Linked DNA regions of Homo sapiens: region 2 is linked to region 1. The links are contacts of gene promoters, found by promoter capture Hi-C in blood cells and fetal thymus (Javierre and others, 2016). All regions are on one chromosome and are shown on one strand. Each heading gives the region's core, a stretch centred on a gene start or on the middle of the fragment in contact. The rest is flanking DNA. Distances are from core to core; before and after follow the strand shown. Region 1 holds the start of NKAIN2 (sodium/potassium transporting ATPase interacting 2). Region 2 overlaps NKAIN2 (sodium/potassium transporting ATPase interacting 2).

Region 1 (3,714 bases), core at 1,148-3,647:
CAATGTACACTTACTTAGATTGTGCTCTTCTGTATTACAGCTACGTCTATTCTGTTAGAGAACTTAATTATAATTCAGAATTTCTGTTTCATAAGTGATGGTGCAACTCTCCAAGACACCATTGTATGTATGGATGCATGCATGTACTCAAGAGCATATGTACATACACACATATGTGAGCACATAAAAACACAAAGGAACCTTTAGCTTTATCATTCTACTTTGAATAGATAGCTTCCCTACTGGTATATTTATGTTTTTCTAAAATTAAGTTCTTGAGGAGTTTGTATTCATCACACAAAATGTCATACAGACCTAGTGCATACATTTGCCATAAGAAAGCCCTATTATATTACATGATTAGAAGTTAAATCACATTTTTCAAATTTTAAATCGAAAAGAGCATAAGAATGATCTACACACCCACTCATTCTCACATTTTTATGCTTTCACACAGTGAATCAGCAAATGTATTCTTTTTCTGAATAATATATAAAAATAAGAATGTTTTGAAAACCTTTATACAGTTTGGCAGACTTAGCCTAATGGGTTGTTTAACAAAGTAAACTCCCTCATTGTTTTGGTTAGCTTTATTATTAAGAGTAAAAATCCTTCATTGCAAAACTTATATGAATCTGTGGTACAGAAAAATAAACTGGTTTACACATCATTGAGAAACTACCACATTCTGAAAATTACATTTATAGTTCCATCTTTGTCTTACAACCAAGTGCATAAGCGCATAAATCACAGATCAAAATAGACACCATCAGATAACTTTCAGGGGAAAGAAAAACATCCTAAGACAACACACAACAAAAAGCACTGTTTCAGCTAAATATTAAACAAAGCAGCAATAACTAACACTCATGGGCTTCACGACAACTGATAAACAAGAACACTTAAGGAATTCCTCTGCCAGTTTCAATGGCAAATCCTTGCTCTTTTGAACACTTTACTGATTGGACACTTAAACATCTTCTGCCTTGTAGTCACTTCAACCTTTATGAAACAGTTGTTGAAAACGGACATGACTATTCCAGTTAATTTATACTTTCTAAGGAAATATATTTAATGACAAGTGTGAGCAAGTAGCTCCTACCTCAAATTAACCACTTAGAGTGGTGTATTTTTCACCTCTCAACTCTCTACTCAGACCCTCCTTCCATTGCCCTTAGGGAATTGAAATTCAGAGACATGACGTTTTCCATTATTGGTTCCTTGCCCCTTTGCAACTGTACAACATTCCTCAAAAAGTACATAGAATTCTCCATCCTATAGGATCAGACAACAGTATCTATTTCAGGAGCAATAATATGCATAATGTAAGACAGAATAGTTTTTCTTGGAATTGTCTGTGTTAATTGTGATTTAAAGGTTACTGGTTCCGTCTATGACAATGGTGTTGCTGAGTTCACCTAAGTATTTTTGTTCAATCTGCATACTTTAAAAACTCAATGTGGCTAAAACTCAAACAGTCTAAATTAGACTGTTGTAAGGATACCATGTGCCCTAAACAGTGGTTTTTTTAGAGCATTATACTTAAAGACAACATTTTCCTTAAAAAAAGAAAAAAAACATGTCTATGAAGAAACAAAGATACTGCAAAATTAGTATAGAGAAGAAAAGTCCAAAATTCCGTATTCCTCTGTTTAACAACCTGTACGGTAAATTGTAGGTGACAATCACGTTGTTACATGAATAGGAATGCAAAGCATAAAGAACAAGAGCTACATCTTGCTTTTCCTAAAGAAATTAAAGACAAGTTTAACCCGCACCTGCCAAACTGTCTTAAAAGGGACAGAAATAGGTGGGAACGGAAAGGCTCACCTCTCCTGTACCCCAGAGTGCGTCTCCCTGAAATCATCTTCAATATAGGCAATATATCTGTCACCTTCTCTTTTATCTTTTTCGTCCATTCTAGTCAATGGCAGACCCTTTGCTGCACTCCCCTGCCCACTATCTCAAAGACACATTACAGAATAAGGGGACCCAAGTGTCACTTACCAGTTGCATGCCACAGATAAAGATAAGCGTGCACCTGCCACTGCAATAACCCATGGTTTCCGAGACCCCTGCCACAGCCAGACTGTCCCACGTCGGCCACCGTCGAGCCCCCACTTTATCCAATCAGATCGCGGGGAAGGACACGCAAACCTGCCGAGGGCTCGGGGGCTCCGGGCTGCTGCTGCTGCCAGCGTCCTGGGAAGTGACAGGCATTAGGACCTGCTGGCGCGGCGGCGGCGGCGGCGGCAGCTCCAGCCGCGCCCGCCACACATACCTTCACTCGCTCGGTGCACACGCCGCGCCGCGGGCAGTGCCGCCTGCGGAGGCGCGCTCGGGGCCCGCAGGGGCAGCAGCGGCAGCCTGGCAGCGCCGCCGCGCCCTCGGGCATCTGGCCCGCGAAGTTTCGCCCCTGCCGCTCTCCGCGCCGCTCGCCTCACGCCCCCCAGCGCGGCCGCCGCCCGACGCGCGCTCGCCCTGCGCTCGCCGCGCGCCGGCTCCGGGGGCGGCAGAAGCGCGCGAGGGCCGCTGCCCGCCTCCCTGCGCAGCCCGCGGCTCCTAGGCACCCTGCGTTGCTGGGCCCGGCGGGCGGGGGTGGGGCGGGGAGCGGGGCGCGGGCCGAGCGGGGGCGTCCCGGCTCCGCGGTCCCCGGCGGCTGCTGCAGCGGCTGCTGCGCGCAATGATGCGGGTCCGCGCCGCGTCCCAGCAGCGGCGCTGCCCCTCCCTTCGCCCAGATGTGTGAATCCTCCTCCTACAACAAATCCTTCATCCTGCTCCCTGCCGCCCCCTCCCAGGGGGCCAACTTTGAGGACCGCAGGGGCTGCCGCCCAGGCGGCCGCAGGCGGCGGTGTCTAGGCGGAAAGGAGCGGCGCGAAAGCGGCGGCGGCGGGGACCGGGGCCTCGGGGCGAGGAGTCTGGGCGGCATGACCGCGGTTTGCTGAGCTGAAGTCGGTCGTGCTCCCAGAGCCACTCCGCGGGAGCGAACCGAGTGTGTGTGTGCGCGCGCGCTCGGGGGAGAAGGGACCAAGAGGAGGGTTAGGGAAGGAAGCTGGGGTCATGGAACAGGGGTGCAACCGAGGCATCCAGAGCGGCCGGAAAGCCCGAGTGGCGGAGAGGCCAGAGGTGGCGAGAAGGGGCGCGGCGGCACCGGACGCACCGCCCAGCACCTGGCTCCCCTGGGCTCCCGAGGATCTGAAGGGTCGGAGCGCGGAGAGCTACGGAGCCGACCCTGCTTGGGGAAGGGGACCGAGTTGCTGCTGGAGTTGGGAAAAATTAGCAACCGGAGGGAATAGGGATGCAATGAGTTGCTGTTGCTGCTTCAAACTGTTGTTTGTTTTCACTTAAAATACTAAAGAGTCGGAGACTAGTTTAATACTCAGTTACTTCAGCTTCACAGCAGTCCCAGCTGGGTGTGGATTCCTAGTGGAGATGCACCAGCCTCCGCTGAGCACCGGCCTGAAAGCTGTGAAGCGGCTGCTACCTGCAGAGACAGGCTTCGGAGCCCGCTGCTGCCACCTGCGGGCGGAAAGCTGAAGGGCGCAACATGCTGGCCCAAGTGGCTGCCCCTGGGGCGTGGATATTTAGGACCAAGTTTCCTTTTTAGCCCTGGCAGCTAAGGAAAGCAATCCTAACTTTTCCAGGAAGTGAAGATTATTTGTTGAGATCCACTGAGGAACTGACTCATTGGGGTGAAGTGTCGCGATTGATAAG
Region 2 (3,525 bases), core at 463-2,962, 940 kb before region 1:
GACACAGGTGGGTATAGACATTGCCCACTAAAATGTGATAGTGCTAAATATACACAGTTATGGAAGACTCAAGGTTGAGAATCTTACTCTACCTGATGGGTCTGGGCAATGTGACAGAAGTGGTGAACTTAAGCCTGGAGGAAAAATGAGGTTCTCTAGGGCAAAAGAATAACTAACATTTAGTAAATGTCCATCATATGACAGACGTTGTGTTATACGCTTTCATGTGTATTATTTCAAAGCCTCAAAATATTCTTACAAAGTAGGTTTTAATAATCCCATTTTGCACCACAGGCAAAGGAGCTTCTGAAAGTCTCAGGCCTAGTAAGTGTCAGAGTGACTAGGTCAAATACAAATCAAAATGGTTTCCAAGCTGATGCTATTTCAATTATATCACATGTCCCCAAAGAGAAATTTCATCCAAGCAGAAAGGAAGTTCCATCCAAGCAGAAAGAAGAGCATGTGCAAAGATAAGCATAAGTGGCACAGAATTTTGCAAGTATTTTGGTGTATTATAGGAAATGAAGGGGAAATAGTGGGAAATGGGGTTATAAAATAGGGTGAGATCAAATTATGAAGAATCAGATTTGCCAAACAAAATAAATGGGATTTAATATTATAGTGTGGATTTTTGATCTACAATTTTAGAATTTTATGCAGAGAATTGGGGCATAAGTTGACAATGACAGAAATCTGGAGGGTGCACTGGGATTGAAAGAGCATGTGGGGGACAATCCAAAGGACCAGATGAACAAAATAAACAAAGTACAAAGTCCTTTCCCAGTATGACGATGCACACAGTGTGACTCCACCATAAAATCTCTTAGAGCCTTGTCCTGAGTGCTCATATAAGATTAGGACCTTATCCAAGGATGATGTAAAGTTAAAAACATACATTTATAATTTTCTTTTTTACCCTAGAATAAATTTATAAATTTGTTGTTGAGATAGGCAGGGTGAGGTCCCCAAATACGTCCATCCCCTAGTCCCTATAACCTGCGAACCTGTTACATGACATAGCTAAAGGAACTTCACAGATATGAAAAAGGTTACAGATCTTGAGATGGGGAAATTATTCTGGATTATACAGATGGACTGTGTTCAGTCACAGGAGCTCTTAAAAGCAGAGACGCTTTCCCAGCTTGGGTCAGAGAGATTCATCATGAGAAGATCTCCACTAGCTGTTGCTGGATTTCAGGATGGAGGAAGACTCAAGCAGAGAGACCTGGTGGCCACTAGAAGCTTGGAACAGCCCTCAGTTGATAGCAAGGAAATGAGGACTCAGTGACACAACCTCAAAGAACTGAATTCTTTCAATGACCTGAATATTAATGAAATGAAATTTCTCCTAGAACCTCTGGAAAAGAATGCAGCCCTGCTAACACTGTAATTTCAGCTCAGTGAGACTGTGTTAGACTTCTGACCTACAGAAGTCGTGAGACAATAAATTTTTGTTGTTTTAAACCATTAAGTTTATGGTTCCTTGTTACAGCTGCAATAGAAAACGAATATACTTGCACACTTCTTTTTTTTTTTAAATTAGAAGTTAATATCAGAGCTGGGGAAAGTAGCAAATGGTTCTCAACTGGTTCTAAGAAAAGATTTAATCAATATTTTCACACAAACTCAGTAAATCAAATGGATAAACTAGAGAAACCCACAGATAAAGACACAAAACCCAGTGTCTTTAGTGCTCTGAATAGCAGAAAACAAGACGATAGATCTGCGCTTTATGTTGAAATTTTTATAACTTCCTCCGTGTTTATTTATTGCATTTTATCTTGTTTTGTCTGAAAAGTGATTGGCACTGATACTCTTAAACTGTAAAAAAAATCTTTGTTATCACCTTTGTGGGAAGACAGGGAAACAAAGAAGCTCTTTGGGACAAGCAGGTGGCAGTTACCACCAAAGGTGAGAAAAGCATCTGTACCCTTGGAATCTGGGGCAAAGGAATCAGGAGAGCATGGGAGCTTTCCTGATGTAAGAAGAGTGCCTGTAGGTGTTAAGAGCAGAAAGGCTTATGCTCTTTTGTGCTTCACTTATTCATTGACTTATTCATTCAATAAATACTTACTGAGTGCCTCCAAGTGTTAACTGCTGGCTTACCCATTACAGAACTCCCAGTCTAATGGGGCTGTGTAAACCAACAGTTGCATAGTGGAAAATGCCAAGATAAAGCTTTACAGGTAATTGTTGATATGGTGCTAAGACAAAGTGCTTGTGTACGTGTTGTGGCCTTATTGTTCTGCAACGATACTTGTACAGAGTTAAATGTTAAGAAACTTTCATGGCAAATTGTGGTGTGATTTTCATGACTGTTGAATATAATAACCACAAAGTGTGCTTAGTTTTTTCATCTTCTTATTTCACTTTTGTGATAATTTGTTTTTATTATATTTTTCAAAAACATTCATTGTGACGGACTGGCAAAAAAAATTGTTTGTGAAGCACTATTGTAACATTTAAAAGAAGTGCTAAGACTATATCATGAGGAAATAGAGGGAAGAAAGGGAAGAGTCAGGAGTATCCTATTTCAATTTTTGCTTTGAATTGAGTGTTTCATATTTTAATGAGGCACATTATAAAAAATATAAGAATATTTTTGGGGAAGCAAATGCCCCTCATCTGCTTGCATGTAGGCCCCCCTCCTCCATTTCTCTTGTGGGCCCAATTCTTTGGAGAAACTTACATGTGGCAAAAATGTATGCGACTATTCATCCCATCAATGAAAGATTTTAAAATAATTCATAACTGTTTAAGCAACACCCATACATGGGCTAAGCAAGTTTTCTTCTTCACCCTCTGTACTTGGAGCTTGTGCTAATTTTCCTGGCACGTTTACAGCTCTGGCTTCAGCATAACTTCTCTCCTTCACACTAAGCTGTTCTCTGATAAGGTGCAGCTGGGGAAATCCATTGCTCCCTGGACCAGTCAAGTTTTCACATCAGTTAAGTTAATTGACATAAGGCTTAACATATTTCTTGATTATGGCTGCAAAGTCATTACTAGAGGAATCCCCCAAATCATGGAAAAACAGTGTTTTCTGATTAATTGGCTCTGAAAATGGCTCAATAAAACTGCAACACACACCTGATGGAATTAGAATAAGGGACAAGGACAGCTCAGGAGAGACTCACAGAGTGAGAAAAGACCTGTGGGTGGTTAGGGACCAGGAAAGGACTGTGACCCCAGCTCTGGCCTTATTCAGCATCACTCAGCTTGGGTGACTGTGTCCTGCAAAACTTACAGGGCTATTATTAAAGAAATATTGAATATTATCTTTGAAATGGTTTTGAGAATTTAGTATCATAAACAGGATAAGATATTAATTCATAGAGAATAATGGCCAGTCATTTGTAGTTTTAAAAAAATACCTACTAGGCTTAATCCATATGTCATAACTTTTGTTGCTACAATTGCTTCAATTAGTCTTTGTTTTCTTTGGATATAATAGTGTTAATAGTACATTATTGATTCATAAAATTATAGAAGTGAAAGTGACCTTAGGAGGTGATCTAGTTCAAT

What was found. Contacts are between HindIII fragments. The CHiCAGO score rates a contact against its expected background, and 5 or more counts as called.
Region 2: a contact is called between a fragment that was not itself captured here and the fragment with the promoter of NKAIN2 in region 1, in 1 of 17 cell types (M2 macrophages). The highest score is 5.9, in M2 macrophages.

Annotation. Positions count from the first base shown.
Region 1 is chr6:123,802,548-123,806,261 of GRCh38, reverse strand. NKAIN2 (sodium/potassium transporting ATPase interacting 2) reads right to left here and starts at 2,397. Exons shown (of 7, transcript NM_001040214.3): 1 at 2,008-2,397. The coding sequence starts at 2,061. RefSeq lists an enhancer at 3,592-3,641. The HindIII fragment of the contact is 9,489 bases long and covers 1-3,714 here.
Region 2 is chr6:124,746,865-124,750,389 of GRCh38, reverse strand. All of the region lies in intron 4 of NKAIN2 (sodium/potassium transporting ATPase interacting 2), which reads right to left. Among named protein-coding and RNA genes, the nearest start is that of RNF217, 210 kb to the left of the region's middle. RefSeq lists a silencer at 2,780-2,980. The HindIII fragment of the contact is 936 bases long and covers 1,245-2,180 here.